Regions from separate parts of the Homo sapiens genome. Here region 1 is linked to region 2. Evidence: promoter capture Hi-C in 16 types of primary human blood cells and fetal thymus (Javierre and others, 2016). All regions are on one chromosome and are shown on one strand. The core of a region is centred on a gene start or on the middle of the fragment in contact, and the rest is flanking DNA. Distances in the headings are between cores, read along the strand shown. Region 1 overlaps LL0XNC01-250H12.3 (a long non-coding RNA gene). Region 2 holds the start of RAB40AL (RAB40A like).

Region 1 (2,700 bases), core at 33-2,532, 540 kb before region 2:
AGGGGTGGGAAAGAGGGAGGGACTGCATGAAACCACCCAGGGGTCAGCACCACAGCTTCCAGAGAGGAAGGATCCTAACACAGCTGGGTTTGGGGTAAAAGTTGAGTCACAGTCTCACTCAGCAAAGAACTGCAGGAACAATCAGCACATGTGAATTAAAACACTTGCGAAATACCTTCCCTGTGCAATTAAAAATATTAGAAGAAAAGGAAGGAAAATATACACAAACCCAACAATTCTAACACAAAATCAGATCAAGTTCTAAATAAGATTCACCCCTAAGCCAATAAGGGATTTGGGTGGTAGACTGGCATATCTTTTACCAGCATAGCCCAGATTAGGTTCTGGATTAGGCCTTGAAGGGTTACAGTGAGCATGAAAGACAGATAATTTGGCCCAGACAAATGGGAAGTTGTTTCATATCAGGAAACACTGAGACATTGTTTTAGGCCAGTTAGCTCCAGAGAAACTCTAAGACTTTGAACACGCTGGGAAAAAGCATTTGAAAACAGTATCTACAGGTTGTTTGTGCTCCCTATAGCGTATAAACTGAGAAAATGGATATGTCTGTTTTAGTAAGTCTGCAAGAGTACACATGACAAGGAGGCCATGCAGCTCCCACTGTTGAAATGTGATTGTGTGTTTGTTCTCCTCATGTTTCTTCATTTTTTTTCCTTTTTTTCCATGAGGTAGCCAGGCATCTATAGAAAAAACATGCTACAAAACAATACCATTCTCACTTACAGATATATGCATATGTAATAAAAGTATAGGGAAATGTCTTTAAAATCTAAAACCCGAATTCTGCATAGTGGTTACCTCTGAGAAAGAAGGAGGCTTGCAATCAGAGAAGTCTTCAAAGTGAGTTTCAACTGCATATATAATATTAGGTATGTCAACATGAGAACAGGGATGTCTCTTACATTCTATAATTTTTGTATTTCTGAAATATTTCATAACAACTGTTTCAATGAAGCTTACTTCTGACTTTTAAAAAGAACCATACTAATTTAGAAATTGTGGAAAACATAGTTAAGTCAAGAGATAAAGAATTAAGTACCGACCCACCGCTCATTAATTTTGAAGAATGTATCCTTTTTTGTGCAGTTCCTCCCGTTTTATTCTCTACGCAGTCATATTTAATGTATGAGTTTCATTTATCTGGAGACTCAACATTTCCTAAACATCATAAAACCAGTAATTAAATGTGCCCCAATTTTCTCCTCACTTTACTGATGCCAATGCCCACGTCCTTAACCATTAGGTATACAATCTTTTTCTGTGTAAGGACAGAGACCAACACAGGGGAAGTGACTCCCCATGGTCCTGTACACGAGGACAGATCTGGTATTGGGGGCCAAGGTCTCCTGATTTCAGTCCATTGCACAGCAGACCCATCTTCATGTTCTGTTATTCTGTGCTGTCTCCTTTCTGGCCCACAGTGGGAAGCTGCTATTTCAGCATCCAAATAGAAGTTTAAAAAGAAGAGAAGAACACAACAAATAAAAAGTAATGAGGCTATAATTTGCTTCCTTATTTCCACCATCCTCAGTATCTCATCTTAGAAAGAAATAGCACCAAAGCTTATACGTCATATAAATATGTATGCATTTCTTTTTCTGATGGTTCAAATCCATTGATCTCTTTGAGATGTTGATGTTTAAGTCATCTCTTGTGGGAGGGAGAACATAAGGGAGATTATACATATATTTGTTGAAGTATTAGGTACCATGTGCTTTATTTACGTTTGCTCATTCCTCCTCTTGGCTCTCTGAAGTAAATGTCATTATGCCCATTTTATAGGTTAGCAAGGTCAGGTTCAATAAGGGTAACTCACTGCTAGAGGGTCATATTCAGCTATCAAGAGGCAGGAATGGGGTATTACACAAAATACTCATTTATATATATTATTTCCCAAAGTTATCAGATTATATGTATGTTTCAGCAATTTTTCTTTCTCACTCAGCATGGTAGCCTAGGATATTAGTTTTCAGTCCTTTAGTTATTGTAATCTGGCATAGTTTTGAAAATTTAATGGGTATACAATTGTTTTTTAATGTGAATTATCTGTTAATATTATTTTCTCTATTCATTAGTAAGACTTCATTCCATATCAAGGATGTAGTGTTAAGGATTTAATATAAAAGTAACCACTGAAACAAAACAATAACCATGCTAACTACTAAATAAATAGGAAGAGGAAATCAAACACATGACCTAGTGAAAGGCTATATAATTTCCTTATATTTATAGACAATACTACAGAACTGAACTTAAATGACCAAAGACTTTGATCATATTGTGGCAAGTCAATTCTCCCTGACAATCACATAGGCAGGCCTGCATGACAGTCACACAGACAGGCCTGCATAGCACCCCAGTTACACAGACAAATTTCCACAGCGCTGCCTTAACATTGAGCAAATAGTTAAACCTAGGGAAATTGTTGCCCAGACATCAAAGCTAGAAATGACACATATGGTCAGTAGGAGCCTTGTGTGGGCTTCTCCCTTGCTGGAGCAAGCCAAAATAATAGACACAGTTTTACAATAGGACCCATCTCGGGTCGACAAAATCTGAGAGAAGTCAAGGTAACAGAGGCAGCTGTTTGAACAGATTCATTAGAGAGTCTAAGGCAGCTCTCTGGACCAAGCTGTAAAGGAGACAAGATAGAAACAATCACTCTGGTACGACAGTAGA
Region 2 (2,700 bases), core at 162-2,661:
AAATCCATTTCGTGCACAAACTGGACAGATCTGTTACGTATAATCTCTATATGCATCTGCAGTGTTTTATAAATTGGTGCTTTGACATCAAAAAGGAGGTTTACAAAAAGTCCCCTCTAGTAATATCAATGACTCGGAATGATCTCACTATCATTGCATCTCAAATTCCCTTGAATTTATACTCATCACTGTCATATCACCATTCTTACAAAAGCGGTTATTTTAAGGAAAAAGATGCAGTGTGATTATGATATAAGTAACATTCAAAATTTCATGTTATCAAGAGTTAAGCAGAGTACTAATTTCCCCTTTATAAACACATGCACATCCACGTAGAAATTCAAAGTCAAACTGCGTAAAGTGCTTTTATTGACAGAAGGCATCACACACATTCCCAAGCAGCATTGTTCCCATGAGAAACTGAAAACGTATTTCTTTGAATCTAGAATGCATCTTCCCTCTTCCAGGTGTAACCATTCAGAGTTTTTCCTGGAGCGATTCCAGCTTGTTTCCTTTTGGTGCCTTCCTTAAGAAATTTTGCAGCTGTTTCTGGTGCAGTTTTTGGGTGGGCTCTGGGGTGGGCAGACGATCTTCACTTTGCAGAGGCTGCTCCTTTTGTGAGTGGAGCTGGTGGTGAGGGAGTAGGAGAGGCCTCGCATCATCCTGGCATTCAGGCCCTTAGCCATGGAGAAGGACTTGAGGTGGCTTCTTAAGGCAATGGGGAGCGGGAGCTTGTCCACCAGATGCACAGGTGTGCAGGACACGATGGTGCGGCAGCAGAGGTCTTGCAAGCTCAGTACCTTGCTCGGCCTCCCGAGCCAGTTCAACCTGTGCCGCAGCAGCACTATCCTGGCCAGCTCCGTGAAAGACTCTATGATGTTGAAATTGCACAGAGGGCTGACCTCAAAGAAGGTCACGCCCAGGCGCTCGGCGTAGGCCTGGGCCTGCTCCCTGGGCACCTGCCTCTTGAATGCCAGATGTAGGCGATTCCCCACCAGGATTTTAGGGACACCAGGGGCATGTTCCTCAATCTTCTTAATCCATCGATCCATACCCTCGAAAGACCAGCGGTTTGCAATGTCGTAGACCAGGATCACTCCTTGTGCACCACGAGAGTAGGAGCGGAATATGGTACAAAATCTTCCCTGCCCCGACGTATCCCAGAGCTTCAGCTTCACCCGCTGGCCGTCCAGCAGGATGGTGGTCGTCTTGTAGTCGATTCCCCCCAGGTGACTGTACGGGGACTCGGCCGTGCCGTCCTGCAGGCTCTCCAGGATCTCACTCTTGCCTACGTCCCTGTCGCCCACCAGCAGGAACTTGAGCAGGAAGTCGTAGGCCTGGTCGGGGCTGCCCGGGGCGCTCATCGTGCTGGCCCCGCCCCCCGCCTGGGCCAGACCAGCAAGGTTGTGCGCAGAGGCGGTGCCGGGCCTATTTTTCTTGAGAAATTAGCATAGAACATAAAAAATGGGATGGGGAAGTCTACGAAATAAAGTGAAATGAGGTGGTGGCTTTGATGGTTTTCTTTTACAAACCCTGGGAAACCGGTTCAGCGATTGTTTTCCTTTTTCTTACCCAGCACAGAGTAGTGACACAGCAGTTAATTCATCATGGAAACCTATACATTTCCCTTAAAACTTTCATGTGATCGTTATGGAACCATGCCTTTTGGATTATGTCAAAGGAATCTCCTTTAAAGGAAGGACGGGTATGAGATAGGAAGCAGACTAAGATGTGTTGAGTACCGTATGTACCCTACGCTGTGTATGACGCTTAAAATAATTTGTTCTTTTACTTCTCAGAACAATTGTCTTTGGTAGCTATGATTGTTTTCATTTTACAAATGAGAAAAGGCAAACTCAGAAATGTTACGTAATTTTTAAAAATCTTGCCGTTAGTATAGAGATCACAGAAATCACAATCCTGAGCCAGTGCTCTCCTTATATAATGCCCCACACATCCTTTCTACTCTGTGGCCATGCCGGGTTTAGGAGTAAGTGTGAACTGTCTGTGCATGTGATCCTTGACAAGCCACGCATGTTTGCATGGGCACTAACACATTTTTTGCTGCAGGGGGACATCTCCCATAAATATAAGAGCCAAGATCTCAGAAGAAACATCTAGGATATGGATTTTTCTAGAGTGTCTCATAAATAATATTCAGCCAAGAAAGATGTGTTGAAATAACGCATGCATAGATCAATGAAGGGTTTTAGATTTAACACACGTACAGATCCTATAACAAAACAGCAAAACTGACAAAATATATAAATGGTTCATGGATGATGAAATGCAAATGGCCAATAATCATAAGAAAATGCATTCTAGCTCACTAATATATAAGGAATGCAAATGCAACTATCTAAATATACTTTTATCACCTATCGTTTGACAAAATTTCAATGTAGAAAAAACTGAATAAGAATTTTTTTTTAATTTGCAAAAGAAAAAGGTAAAAGTGGCTCTGTGTGTGTCTGTGTATGGGGGCAGGATGAGGGACCAAATACATCAAGGAAATGGAAACACACTTCTCAGTTATAAATGCATTTAAATATTGTAACTACAACAGGTATAAAGATGGTTAAAGGAATGAGAATGCTCAGACACATATAAGGGAGTTTAAATTATTGAAATCAAGCCCCAAGGGATAGATGTGTAAGCATGTAATGGATGAAACATTTTTCACATGTACAAAATAGCCAG

What was found. Contacts are between HindIII fragments. The CHiCAGO score rates a contact against its expected background, and 5 or more counts as called.
Region 1: a fragment that was not itself captured here is called in contact with the fragment with the promoter of RAB40AL in region 2 in 1 of 17 cell types (total CD4 T cells); the score reaches 5.3 in total CD4 T cells.

Annotation. Positions count from the first base shown.
Region 1 is chrX:103,478,455-103,481,154 of GRCh38, reverse strand. The region is part of intron 4 of LL0XNC01-250H12.3 (a long non-coding RNA gene); the gene reads right to left. Among named protein-coding and RNA genes, the nearest start is that of RAB40A, 40 kb to the left of the region's middle. The HindIII fragment of the contact is 607 bases long and covers 979-1,585 here.
Region 2 is chrX:102,935,983-102,938,682 of GRCh38, reverse strand. RAB40AL (RAB40A like) reads right to left here and starts at 1,411. Exons shown (of 1, transcript NM_001031834.1): 1 at 383-1,411. The coding sequence starts at 1,364. The coding sequence ends at 528. The region is part of intron 10 of LINC00630 (long intergenic non-protein coding RNA 630); the gene reads right to left. The HindIII fragment of the contact is 15,007 bases long and covers 1-2,700 here.